Linked DNA regions of Homo sapiens: all the other regions are linked to region 3. The links are contacts of gene promoters, found by promoter capture Hi-C in blood cells and fetal thymus (Javierre and others, 2016). All regions are on one chromosome and are shown on one strand. The core of a region is centred on a gene start or on the middle of the fragment in contact, and the rest is flanking DNA. Distances in the headings are between cores, read along the strand shown.

Region 1 (3,084 bases), core at 126-2,625, 2.4 Mb before region 3:
TGAGATTCTGTTCACACTTCCTACACTCTTCCTTACTCGTCTGTGTTCTTCCAACTCCTCATCTTGCCTAATTCCTCAGGCAGCACCTCATCCTGTAAGTCTTCATTTCCAGGCTTAAGAGATGTCAGCCATCTGTGTCTTTATTGTACAGCCAGCACAAGTGAACACTTGAACACAGGCATCCCTGCATTGTTGTTCTGAACCTTTATGTGTATTAACAACTAATTTCTTGGTGATGACTGACTCATGAGGCAGAGAATGATGTTGAGGGATGAATCCAATTGACACTGGACATGTCTCCGGAGCCAGGACTGAACTGAATTCACAATAAATAATGTAGCCTCGGGGTACCAGAAGGGAATGGATTCACCCTCTGAGAGCTACAAAAGAATTTTAGGAAATTCTCATCTCCCTGGCCCTTCAGACAGTGGTCATTTTCTTGGTCTTCCAAGAGAATGACAAAGTTTCAGAAAGCCTATCTGAGGAAGGTGAAGGGCAGTGAGAGGGTGCACGGGTGGAAAAGCCCTCTCAAGAGTGACGTGGGCCTTCCCCTCGAGCTCCCCAGATGGGGCGTCCCAGATGGCACCAGCGCAATCTTGTTCTCAACCAGGATCCCGGACAAAGACCTAGAGATCCAAGCCGACGGCAGGCCAAGCTCTGGCCCGAGACTGAGGCTTCTGCTTCTCAGGAGATGAGAGTTTAACAATAACTTCGTGGATTTCAAAAAGAAGAAAAAGGTCTCAGGGCACCGGAAAAGGTGTATTCGGGTTGAGGGCGTGGGCTCAGAATCGGGTCTACCTCGTACGGGATGTGAGACTTCAGGCAGACTGCTCGGCCTTTTCAAGGCTTTAAATGGAGCTAAAGGGTATACGACATGACGTTCGCCCGGTGTTTAGGAATATGGGGCGTGACTTTCCAAGCAGGCGGCTGGAGCCAGGGAGACCACAGGCCGCTGCAACACAAACCAGCACCTGAACAAGCTTGGTCAGCCAGCGGTACACCTCCGCCAACCCCAGAAGCCGAACAGATGCGCCCCGAAACGTCATTTCCGCGCGCCAAGGGGCGGGGCCGGTACCGGGTGCGGAAGTCGCTCCAGGGGTCACTGGGAAGTGTAGTTTTCGAGACAGAGGCGCTCAGAAGGAGGGTCACAGTAGGGCCAGGCACTCTTCTCGGGAGCTCCTACGTGTTTTATGCACGTGGTTAAGAAAAAAGAGGGAGAATTCAGGTGCCACAGTGGCCATTCTCCGGTGACCGGAGCGTGTTACTCAGAAACGGATCCGTCAGAGGCCAATGGGAGCTGCCGGCCTTCAGGGCGCGCCTGGTGGCGCCGAGCATCCTGGGAGGTGTGGTCCGGGCGCTGTGCCGAGGATTCGGGGTAGTGTAGTCCTGGCGCCCCGCTGGAGGAGCTCCCCAGCTGGTGGCTGGAGCGACCCCTTGTTCTTTGGTGGCGCTGGTGAGTGAGGCTCCCGCGGGACCCTTGCCGCAGCCGTACCCTTTTCTGCGCGAAAAGGAAGGTCCCGAAAGGCTGGACTATGGGCTGAATTTGGGGACCGTGCGGGTGGCGCGGGGGTGGTGATTGTGGTGGGAACGCGCTGGCGTGGCGCAGGCCGTCCTCTCCCAGATGTCTTATTTTGGGGGTGTGGGCGTGCATCTCCAGGGGAGTTGGGTGAAGCCCATCCGTGAAACTGGATGGTGATGAGTGGGGGATCGGGCTCTCTCTCCTAGGGTTCTTGTGGGTGGGGACAGGTTCGGCTTTGGCTGAAGTCGGGTATTGGGAAAGGGAGTCGCTGATGCCATAAGTCCCCGGTTTTGGGGGAGTTGAATAAATAAGCTTTTTGGGGGAATGGTATTTCCCAGGTGGTGGAATGGGAACCATCCCTGGGGCCATGTGTCCCCGAGGCATTGGTCGGTTGAGGGCTAGTCTCTTGGGGCCACACTATTCTTCGGCTTTGCTGGAGTGGAATGAGGAGCGGTCTGGCTTGACCAAACAAGCCAAGGTTAGACTGGATCTGGGGTGGCCATTTTGCCGCGATCTTAGGGTTTCACTTTGGTTGGTCACCCCCGGGTTCGGGCGTTGGAGGAGGAAGTCTGGCTGGGACGCACAGGACAGGTTTTTTCCAAAGGTCCCAGGGACCGTCATTGATCGCAAGAATTACGGATTCCCAGGCCCCTGGTGTGGCCAGGCTTTGGGATTTTACATTCCATTTAAGTTTTTATTGCGGAGAAATTTCAAACAGCCAGAAGTAGATAGAACTCTATAGACCAGATCTCCATCACCCAGATTCAACACTTAAAACCTTATGACCAATCTTGATTCATCTCAGAATGGACACAGAGAATCCTTGCAATCCAGAGTTCACCGTCACTGCCCTTACTGTGTAAGAGCACGGTCTCCACAGCCACATTTCCTCTAGGCTCTGTCACTTTATAGCTGTGTCACCTTGGGCAAGATGCTGACTTCACTGTACCTCAGTTTCCTCGATTTTATCCTAAAGAGGATAATAGCATCTATCGTATTGGGTTGTTGAAAGGATAGAATGAGGTGAAACTCCTACAGTGGCTGTAACAGTCTCTGGTGTATACTAAGTGTTCAGTGAATATTACCTTTCATTAATAACAGGCACAGAGAAGGTCGCTTCATGCTCAGCGTCAACAGCATATCAGGGCAGGTCGTGCTTTCAACCTGTACCCCAGCTGTGTTCCCAGGAAGCTGCCCGCAGTTCTTTTCTCCTTTTCTTCTGTGGCAGGTTCATTCCTGATGCTGTTAAGGAATAGGAGGTACTGCCCTGCTGGAGAGGATTTCCCTTGATTTTCTTGAACGCTTTTTGTTCTTGTTCTGCCTCCCTGTGGCTCCTGTCTGCCCAGAGAGGACTGCCTGCTGGGGAAAGGGGGTACTCCTGAGCTCCTGACAGCCCAGCTTCAGGTGGGTGCCACTTACCTTTTGCATTTCGAACCATGAGTGGGTTTCTTTTGCTCAGCTTTGACGTCTGTGTTCTACAATGTCCCATCCAGGGATCAGGGCCCCAGCTGGTTCCTTCAGGAAACTAGGCTTGTTTTAAGAGTGATCATTTTCACAGGGAATAT
Region 2 (3,304 bases), core at 352-2,851, 2.6 Mb after region 3:
ATAAGCATTAAACTAGAATGTGATACCCATCACAGGCAATCCATTAAGAGACTGCAAAGACAGAACGAAATCTCACTCTTTTGTGCAGCCAAGCAATCTATTACACACATTTTCAAGATAAACAATAACTAGCTCTCAAGGGAACTTGGCAGCATTTTTCATCACACACAGTTCATCTAACCTGATATTTGGGATGATCCTCTGTGTTAGCCAATTGGCTTTATCTAGAGGAAAAAGAAACTTGTATCTTTATGATATGAGATAATTTTGTAAGTTGGAGCAAAGGGCCCACTGAAGTTAGGCTCCTACTCCCCCATTAAAACTGGGAGACAGGGGCATTAACTCCCTTGATACTTAAAGAGATGGCTCCTAGGTCCTAGAAAAAGACATATCTAGGTTATAAAGCGCACAAAAAGGCCTAACTAGTCTTCAAAAGGATTTATATATTTCAAAGAGAGGAAAAAGTACTTACACTAATTACCAATTTTCTAAAAGTAAATGTTCGAAGAAAAAGGGAGGGAAATCTCATATTTTCAACAGGAAGTAGTAAACCTTATTTTAAATTTGTATTTGTCCTGACAGTCCCCAAACATTACAAACTCAACGTGTCGGTAAGACAAGGCTGAGTTAACTGCTGGCCACAGTAAGGGACAGCATGACCTGGCAAAGCTTTACCAATGGCTGGGAGCAAAAGGCAAGGTCAGTTTATTGAGAACTGGAAGTCTGACTCAAGGAAGGTGTTTCAAAGCGGGCTTTAGTTAGTATTGAGCAAGAATTGGTGGAAACAGCAAGATTTCGAGGAGTCAGCGAATCTTAGGGAATCAATTGTGCTTTCCCCGAAGAGTGGATGGGTCTCTGGGGAAGTTCTGTAGTGAACAAAGCTTTCGCCCGAATGGGAACTCCTGGAAATAAAGCCCTGCAGTAAAGACGGCAGGGTGCGGTCCCGGCTCCTGGCGCGCCGAGCCCCCCAGCAGGGCGGGGGCACCGCGGAAGAAGCGCCCCAGAGGAGAGCGCCGCGCCGAGCCCCGCCTGGCGCCAGTTCTCCAGCGCCCGTGGAGGCATCTGCGCCCCTAGTAGCCAAGGTGAGTACCAGCTCCAAGCCCGGCTTTCCGCGAGGTCCCTCGCGTGGCCACCGTGCCCTAAGGGTGCGCTCGGCCTCGGGGACGTGAGCAGCTCTTAGTGGGAAGCCAGCTGCAGGCCCTGACCGCAGGCTGCTGGGGCCCGGAAGCGCTGGCGCCTTGCGGCCAGAAGCCCGGAATGGACGCGAAAGTGACCACGCGAATCTGACGCTCACGTGACTTTTCGCGACTGGCCCCGCCCCCCTGTGGCGTGCCGCAGCGCAGACGTCGCTGTCTCCTGCGCAGGCGCAGGCCTTGGCTCGCGGCGGGTGACGCAATGCGGCGGGTGACGCAATCCGGCGTCGCCAGTCAGTCGCGCGGCCAGATCAGGTAACTGCCCGAACCGCTCCGCCGCCCGACGTGTGGCTCAGCCCCTTCCTCAGCCCCGCCAGGGGCGGGGCCGGCCGCGGGAGGGGAGGGGCCTGCAGCGACCAATCGGCGGTGCCCGCGCAGGGTGCTACGCCACGCCCAGCCGGGCCGGCCGTTCCTACCGGCCTGGTCCAGCGGACAGCGGCTGCAGCGGGGGCGCCGGCTGGGAGGTGAGTGCGCGGCCCGTAGGCCTGGCTCCGGCCCCTCGCCGCCCGCCGCCGCCTCTTTGTCCGCGCGCCCCGGCTGCTCTGTGGACCTGCGCGTCTCGGGGATGCGGGAGCGGGGGCAGGGGGCGGCCCGAGGGCCTGATCCACGCGGCCCCGGATGCCCGCGTCGGGAGGCGGCGCGTCGGGCCGAGGAGGGGCTTCTCTGTGGCTGCAGTAGTTTGTTCTCTGGGTCGTCTTTGGAGTGGCCGAGCGGCGTCCGGGCGCTGGGGCGGCCAAGTGGCGCGGGAAGGGTGGGAGGTGCCGTGAGGGCGGCGAGGACAGCGGCGGATTTAAGCCCCACTGGAAACCCCGGCCCTTGTGGCCGTGGACTGGGCTGCGGGTAGCAGCGTCTCCTGGAAGGGCTCTGGCCCCGTGAGCCTCGGGGATTCAGGGGCCGCCGACGTTGGTGCAGATGCCGGGCGCACTGGGAGGCGGCCGGAATGCCAATGAGATTCGGCGGATACGCAGCTGTCACCGGCCGCAGACTGCCCTGTCGCCACCTCCAGTGCCTGCACTCCAGTAGCCAAGCAACATAGGAAATCGCGCTCAGAACCCACTTTGTTGATTGAGAAATCAGGTCTCCTCGAGGGCCCTGTTGGCAGAGGTCTGGGGAAGTCAGGGCATCAGGCTGAGAGAGCCCTCTGCAGTCTTGTTTCCCCAGGCTGGGGCTGGGACCACTGAAACCCCAGTGGCTCTATAAGAGCCCCACTCTTATAGATCCCTTCCTTAGGCTTTGTCAGTGTTCTCACAGTTTTACTGGGGCGTCTCCTTCAGGCGACATTGATCAAGCCTCATAGGTACCTGTTTACAGCGGAACTCCCAGAGGGCAGTCTTTTCCATGTTTGAGGGACTGCTAGTTGTGGGGAGCGGTCTCATTGATGAGACTGGAGAAGGGGAGAGGGGTGGGACTAGTTTATCAGGGAAGATGATGACAACTTTTTTTCTAGACACGTTGAATCCGAGGTGACATCTGTGGTCTGGCCGAAGGAGGCTAGAAGGAAGGCATGTGCTTTGGATGGATGGAAACAGGAATCAAAGAGGAAGGTAGATTCAGGAGCTGAAGGGCAGGGAGAAAACACATTCAGGGAGTTTGTGGCAAAGCAGCAGAAATGACGATGGGGTGACGGTATCTGGAGGCCTTAGGTGGGGTTGGTGAAATTTGCATGCCCGCTGCAGTGGAAAGATTTAGGGGCTAAAGATAGCCCTTTGCCTTTGGCAAGGCTGAGGGGAAGAGTGTGTTGAGTAGTCTGAGTTGAATCCGGGCACCAGGCCCTGGCTCATGTCCCAACCAGCCATTGACTGTTACCTTGATAGGTCCTCATCTATGAAATGGGGATCACTGTAGCACCTTGGCCTATGTGTGGGAAACCAATAAACTAGCCAACAAGTTTCAGGCTCATGGAACCCTGGTAACAGCCGGTCAGCCTTCTTCAGAGGAGGAAATGGGTTCAGAGAAGTTGCTTGCTCAAAGTAGCACAGCTTGTAAAAGCTGTGGAACTTAACATTATTTCAGTAGAGTAACAATAATTCAAATTCTGAGGAGTTTAGGATGTTGGGAATGGGCGATGAATTGTGAACTACTTTTCCAAGAAGTTTTCCTCATGGAAAGTA
Region 3 (2,910 bases), core at 16-2,515:
TAAGGTGTTCTTTCCTTCGCCACCAAATACACAGGTAAGTGTGTCTATAGATAGCAAAGGTGTTTTCATCCCAAAGAAAAGTTAAGACTTAGGATGTAAAAAAATACAGAAAACAAAACATAGCCTAGGCGAACCAGCTACAGATCACATGCAGCAGGTGACAGGAAGCCTTGTGGACACCTCACACCCACAGGGGCGAGCTTCATCACAGGTCAACTCCAAGCCCACCTGAGCTCCTCAGAACCTCCACCTGGCAGGCCATAAACCAGAAGGTGGCAGACAGCATCACTGTCATGCCGGTAATAAAGGAGAAGCAGCCTCCCTGAACCCAAGAAAACCACCCCTCTCTCCAAGCAGGAAGAGAAGGCCCCTTCACACCAAGGACACAAAGAAACTGAAGCAGCCAGACCCAAAATAAAAATTAAATTTAAAAAGCAGCATGGGAAGACAGATGACAAATCTGTGCTGGGATCGCCTGGAATCTCGGTCTATATGGGGGTCTCACACTCAAAAGTAAAAATAAAATTTAAAAGGGGGATGACAGAGATGAGAGCCCAATTAGGTCTGTGCTGGGTTCACTTGGGGTCTCGGTCTACTTAGGGTCTCAGACTCAAAAATAAAATTTTAAAAATGAAAGGGGGAGGTGACAGTTCAATGTGTGCACGTGATGACCACTTGGGATCCAGTTCACTTGCTGGGAGGACAGGGGACAGGTACCTCTGTGCCCGGCCTCCAGGTTCTCCGGGAGCGCAGGCGCCCAGCGAGAATCTGGGCTAAGTTTAACTCGAGGGCGACGGGAGCAGTGCCCGAGGGCCAGGCTGCGGCTTTCTGGAAACAAAGCCCCGGGGGTCCAAGCCCAGATCCAGGGAAGGGGGTCGGACGCCCACCCATCCCCCTCCCCAGCCTCCCAGCCACCGACCCCTGCACAGAGGAGCGCCCTCCCGGCAGGTGCCCCTAACCCGGCGCCCCGACCCCCGCGCCCGGCGCGCGCCTCACCCAGCAGCGCCCGCAGGTGCTTCAGGCGGGTCAGCACGTCCTTCTTCGGGTCCAGCACCTTCTGGGTGGACTTCTTCACATCCCCGTGGCTCCTTCGGGAGAACATCCCGCGGCAGGAAGCCCGGGCCCCGCCGGCGGGGCAGTAGGCGCCTGCGCCACGCGAATCAAAGCATAGGGTCGAGGCCGGCGCGTGTCGCGCGGGCCACTCGCCGCCCCCAGCCCCGCTGCTGCCGCCGCCGCCGCCGCCGCCGCCGCCTCAGCTGTGTCTCCAGGAAGGAGGGGCGGGCCGGTCACGGCGAGGGGCGGGGCAGGAAGGCGGTGTCGACGGGGAACCGAAGGCCCCGCCCCGCGGGAGGTGCCGGCCGGCCCCTTGGGCGCTACGCACGCGCACACAGGCCGAACTCTCCTGGCGGGACACTAGCCCGTCCGCGCCAAAACCTAGCGGGGACGCGCTCAGAGGGCCGAGAAGGCGCCTCGAATCACAAAGGAGCTTCTCTCACGCACACGTTGTACTACAAGTCCCGAGATGCACCGCGAGACAGTCCTCCAATCAGGCTGGCGGTCTTCGGCACGATGGGAGTCAGTGGGCCGGCATTGGGCACGTCGCCCCGCCCTGCCGCGGGCCGCAAGTGCTCCTGGGAAATGAAGTTCTCCAGCAGGCGACGCGCTGCGACCTCTTTTCCAGGGTCGCAGAAGCGCAGGGCGGCCTCTGTCCGTCCCCTGCCCCGGCAGCCTAGATCGCCCGTGGTTTCACTCTCCCTCCTGCGCGCCCACCCCATTTTCCTCTAGTGCAACGTGAACCACACACGCCCAAAAATCTCAGTAAGAAAAGTGTCAAGGCTTTTCAAATGCAAACTATTTTTAGGTTTAGCTTCTGGATTCACACAAGGGAGCGAGTCGAAGCCCCTCTGACCGTGCCGAAATCGCAGCTCTAATTTCACACTAAAATGAGTTGCTTTGGCACTAGGGAAGAGCGTGCCCCGGTGAGGAGTTCAGCCGGCCCCTAGGTTCCTGGAACCCAACCTCACTTGGGGTATGGAGGTCGCTCGCTCAGAGGGCTCCTTGGGATCTTGCCTCTTTGTAGGAAGGGTGCGTTCTCTGTTGTGCAAGCCACATGGCGATCCAGTAGCAGAACCAGAAATAGAACCTGAGGGATCTGACTCAGGCCTGTATACTTTTTAAAGCCAGGCGCTTATTCCCTGGGGCAAGACTTTGAGCTGAAAGATGGTCAGGAGATTTCTTACACTGTAGGATTGTATAGTGGCATCCGAATCCTGCAAGTTTTGACATCCTTTCAGCTTTTTCAGCAAGTACTTAAGGTAGAATCACGTGGTTTCCATCCAAATTGGGACAACACAACTGTCTTTTTCTCCTCTAGCTGAACTGTAACTTGAGGGAAGAGACAAGGATTTACACGCCTTTGTATCCCCATCCCTCAGCACAGTATTTGGCCCATAGGGTCACTCAATAAAAGTTTATTAAATGAAATACAATAAAAAGCTAAAGTAGTCCTACATATTTCAACCAGGCAGGCGAAAAGGAAAAAATAAATAAATAAACTCACAGTTTTAGAGCGTCTCTCTATTTTTAGATTTGTGTAATATTCCTTTGTATAGACACATTCATACAAAGGAATATTACTCAGCAATAAAAAAGAACAGACTACTGATAAACCCAATAACATGGATCACTCTCAGACCCGGAGATGAAAGCCCCATGCTCAAGATGATGGCAGAGCGGCCCTACCAGCCTGAGTCCCCAGATGATAACAGATCAGGACCACAAACTTCTAAAAGTGTAACAAGAGAGCAAAATAATGTCTTATCTTAAGTCAAGGCATTTTGAGAGTCTTCGTTACAGCAATTGAGCTTGTACCTGATTACACATAGTAAACCACAATGTTCACTGTCCAAT
Region 4 (3,064 bases), core at 495-2,994, 2.6 Mb before region 3:
ACAGCACTCCAGCCTGGGCGACGGAGTGAGACCCTGTCTCAATTAAAAAGAAGAAAAGAAAAGAAAAAGAAAAAAATAGTTGCTTCTCAGTTTGATGATATGCAGTCACTCTCACAAATCAGTAATTTATGCGACAATAATCACGGAAAATATACTGCTTAGGCTTATAAATATTTAAACAGATAAACATACTTTTTTTTTTTTGCAAGACCTCCCTCAGTCCCCCAACCCACTTTTTTATTTGACACAGTTAATAATAAATGATTTCTTAAAAGTAGAATACTTTTTTTTTTGCTTCTAGTATCCTGAAAATAAAGAAAAGAGTACATTTCAAGAAAACAAGTTGAAAAATTAGTCACAATAAAATGAAAGGCGATTGATCTAATTCCCTGATGTACACTCTAAGGACATACAGCTCTGTTGAAGGCTCACTGATTTACAGGGGAAAATATCTAGGATATACCACGAATAAAAAGAAGTCTAATATAATTTTTAAAGAGAAATATGCAAATACACCCTGAACTGAATTTCTTCTCAAAGTTCATTACAGCAAGAACTCCATTTTCCAATTCAGTGGTACATTCTCTCTAGGCTGCAAAAAATGCTGTGGACAAAATGACATTTGGAAAAGGTATCTTTAAAGATACCTTTAAGAGCAATAGTCCCCTTATGCCATTTACGCTCACATAAGAGACTGGAATAGCAAAGCACTATGAACAGTAATGAATGTTGTAAAACTCCCTGGTGAGGCTTAATCAATACTGCCTATAGCCGTGTCCACCGGAAGAAGCTCGTTCTCTGTGAATTCTAGTGGGAAAGAATGATTGAATGATGAACACGTTTTCACTGGTTGCTCTATCAGATACTTAAAAGTTTCTGGGAGGCCTTGCCTTTTTTACCCGAGGAAGAAGTGAAAATGCGTCTTGCACAATTGCTTAACTATTCCCAACGCAAGACTTCTTTATATCATTTATTTCCCTTGTATTACTGGCGCGGAAACTTGGGTGTAAAAGTGATCACAAAGATTACATGGGGCCAGGCGCGGTGGCTCACGCCTGTAATCCTCTCGGGAGGCTGAGGCAGGAGAATCGCTTGAATCCGGTAAGGTTGCAGTGAGCCGAGATCGCGCCACTGCACTCCAGCCTGGGCGATAGACAGAGACTCTGTATCAAAATTATAATAATAATAATAATAATAATCCGAGCCTGACCAGTCGCCCCACAGCGTCAAGGTGAAACCAGGTGACCGCGACTACAGCGTTTAATAATGGGTCCTCAGGCAAAAACTCCACGGATGGGAACCCCGCGCCTCTGAAGCTGCCTAACGAGGCGGTCTCCTGGTGGCGCCTGCCCCGCCAAAGGAGCAATGAGGGGGCTGCGTTTAGGCGAAGCCGGTATTGGGCGAAGCTTCTGGATCAGTCAGGGGCTCAGAAGGGACGTCTGTGGGAGAGGGGTCAGCACGGTATCCAGACCCCGCCCGGGGTGAGGTTGGTACTGAACTGACTGAGGGGCATGGAACCCCCACCCTCCACCCTGGTAAGGTGCCGGGGCCAGTTTGGGCCGGGACTCCTAGAATTTGAATCGGGGGTGGTCTAACGCTGTCGCCTGCGGGGTGTGCAGGAGGCCCCTAGTGAAGCCAAGAGTTCGTAGAGCCTGGGCGCCGCTCTATGCTCGGCTCTCGATTGCTCACGCCTGGCAGCGGCGAGCGGCGCACGCGACGGCTGGGGCTCTGCGCTCGAGGGGTCGAGCCTGGGCAGTACAGGCGGCGGTGCGCACTCTGCGGCGGCCTCTGCGCCTCGGGCGGGCGGGAGAGAGAGGCCGCGGCCGCCAGCGTGGGGATGTCTAGGAGCTCGAAGGTGGTGCTGGGCCTCTCGGTGCTGCTGACGGCGGCCACAGTGGCCGGCGTACATGTGAAGCAGCAGTGGGACCAGCAGGTCGGTGTCACGTGACCGTCTCTTCCGGGCCCGCGCGCGCGGCGTCGACCTGGGGCCTCTCGTGGTCTCTGCCCGCTCGGTTCCTCAGCTCCTCTTCGTGTCTTTCCCCCGCGGTGGCGCGGCCCTGCACCCCACGCGTTTGCGGCTGCGGCCGGCGGCCGCTCTGCTGGGCTCCGGGCGCTGCAGCTCCCGGCGGGCGTGTGCAGCCCGCAGATTCAGGACGACCCGGCTGCCCGGCTTAGCGCCTTTGGAGCTCCGCGCTGAAGGGGCCTTGCTCCGCACAGGCACGGCACGCAAGCTTTTGGGGTGCCCAGTGGCTCTGTTTTCAAGTCACAGCCGGCCCGCAGGGTGCGGACCTTTCCACATCTCACTTGGGCCGCTAGAAAATAGAAGGTGGGGAAGGAGTTTCTTGGGGTGCATTCTGCAAGCTACCAGCCTCCCTCCTGGCCCAAGGTTGGGGTTAAAGCCTAATGTGTTTTACGTGCTATTGATTTTATCCCATGGTAAGGGAGCCCCCCTTCCCCGTACTCACTCTCCATGCCTTTGACCAAGATAATTTGGTGAGATGTTTGCACTTCTCGTTTAAATGAACAGTTTGCTATGGAAACTAGAATCTGGGAACGATAGAGATAACAGTCTCCAGATTTTTTTTTTTGGTACTTTTATTTCAGGAAATATCCGTGACCTGCTGATCAGCAGTGACTATTCTGTCCTCTCAGTTCATATTTTCTTTCTTATTCAAGTTGACAGACCTTTAATGGGTGATTACTGTGTGGAAGCTACCTCACTAAGCACCTTGGGAATACAAAGATAAGGAAACTCCACTCTTCCAGAGTCTATCAGTGATTCACGACCTTGCTGAGAACAGGGTCATTGGTGAATTTTCAGAAAACAACTTGGCAGTGATTGGGGTTGAACCTAGTTCACCAAGGGTGAAAATAATGGACTGGATGAATCAAGAGTAAACAGTCTTTTCTTGATTTGCCTACCCAGACCTTTGGACTGTGCTATGTGCTTGATATACAGAGATGAAGTGGATGAGGTCTTTGTTCTTGGTGTTCACAGACTGTGGAAATTAGAAGAGAGGAAGCATGTGATGGTACAAGAATTTTGACGAGGGGTTGAGATGAC

What was found. Contacts are between HindIII fragments. The CHiCAGO score rates a contact against its expected background, and 5 or more counts as called.
Region 1: the fragment with the promoter of ZNF133 here is called in contact with the fragment with the promoter of RALGAPA2 in region 3 in 2 of 17 cell types (fetal thymus and naive CD4 T cells); the score reaches 8.9 in fetal thymus.
Region 2: the fragment with the promoter of GZF1 here is called in contact with the fragment with the promoter of RALGAPA2 in region 3 in 1 of 17 cell types (neutrophils); the score reaches 6.3 in neutrophils.
Region 4: the fragment with the promoter of PET117 here is called in contact with the fragment with the promoter of RALGAPA2 in region 3 in 1 of 17 cell types (activated CD4 T cells); the score reaches 7.2 in activated CD4 T cells.

The regions. Positions count from the first base shown.
Region 1 is chr20:18,287,152-18,290,235 of GRCh38, forward strand. It overlaps ZNF133 (zinc finger protein 133), which reads left to right and starts at 1,376. Exons shown (of 7, transcript NM_001352452.2): 1 at 1,376-1,453. RefSeq lists enhancers at 949-998, 1,078-1,983, 1,089-1,428, 1,989-2,108. The HindIII fragment of the contact is 851 bases long and covers 979-1,829 here.
Region 2 is chr20:23,360,581-23,363,884 of GRCh38, forward strand. It overlaps GZF1 (GDNF inducible zinc finger protein 1), which reads left to right and starts at 1,602. Exons shown (of 6, transcript NM_022482.5): 1 at 1,602-1,657. RefSeq lists silencers at 888-977, 1,398-1,887 and enhancers at 1,068-1,327, 3,142-3,201. The HindIII fragment of the contact is 6,657 bases long and covers 880-3,304 here.
Region 3 is chr20:20,711,379-20,714,288 of GRCh38, forward strand. RALGAPA2 (Ral GTPase activating protein catalytic subunit alpha 2) reads right to left here and starts at 1,266. Exons shown (of 40, transcript NM_020343.4): 1 at 997-1,266. The coding sequence starts at 1,102. RefSeq lists a silencer at 1,157-1,416 and enhancers at 1,408-1,702, 1,527-1,726. The HindIII fragment of the contact is 11,955 bases long and covers 1-2,910 here.
Region 4 is chr20:18,136,119-18,139,182 of GRCh38, forward strand. It overlaps PET117 (PET117 cytochrome c oxidase chaperone), which reads left to right and starts at 1,745. Exons shown (of 2, transcript NM_001164811.2): 1 at 1,745-1,933. The coding sequence starts at 1,838. It overlaps KAT14 (lysine acetyltransferase 14), which reads left to right and starts at 1,745. Exons shown (of 11, transcript NM_001392073.1): 1 at 1,745-1,933. RefSeq lists a silencer at 2,114-2,233. The HindIII fragment of the contact is 825 bases long and covers 1,405-2,229 here.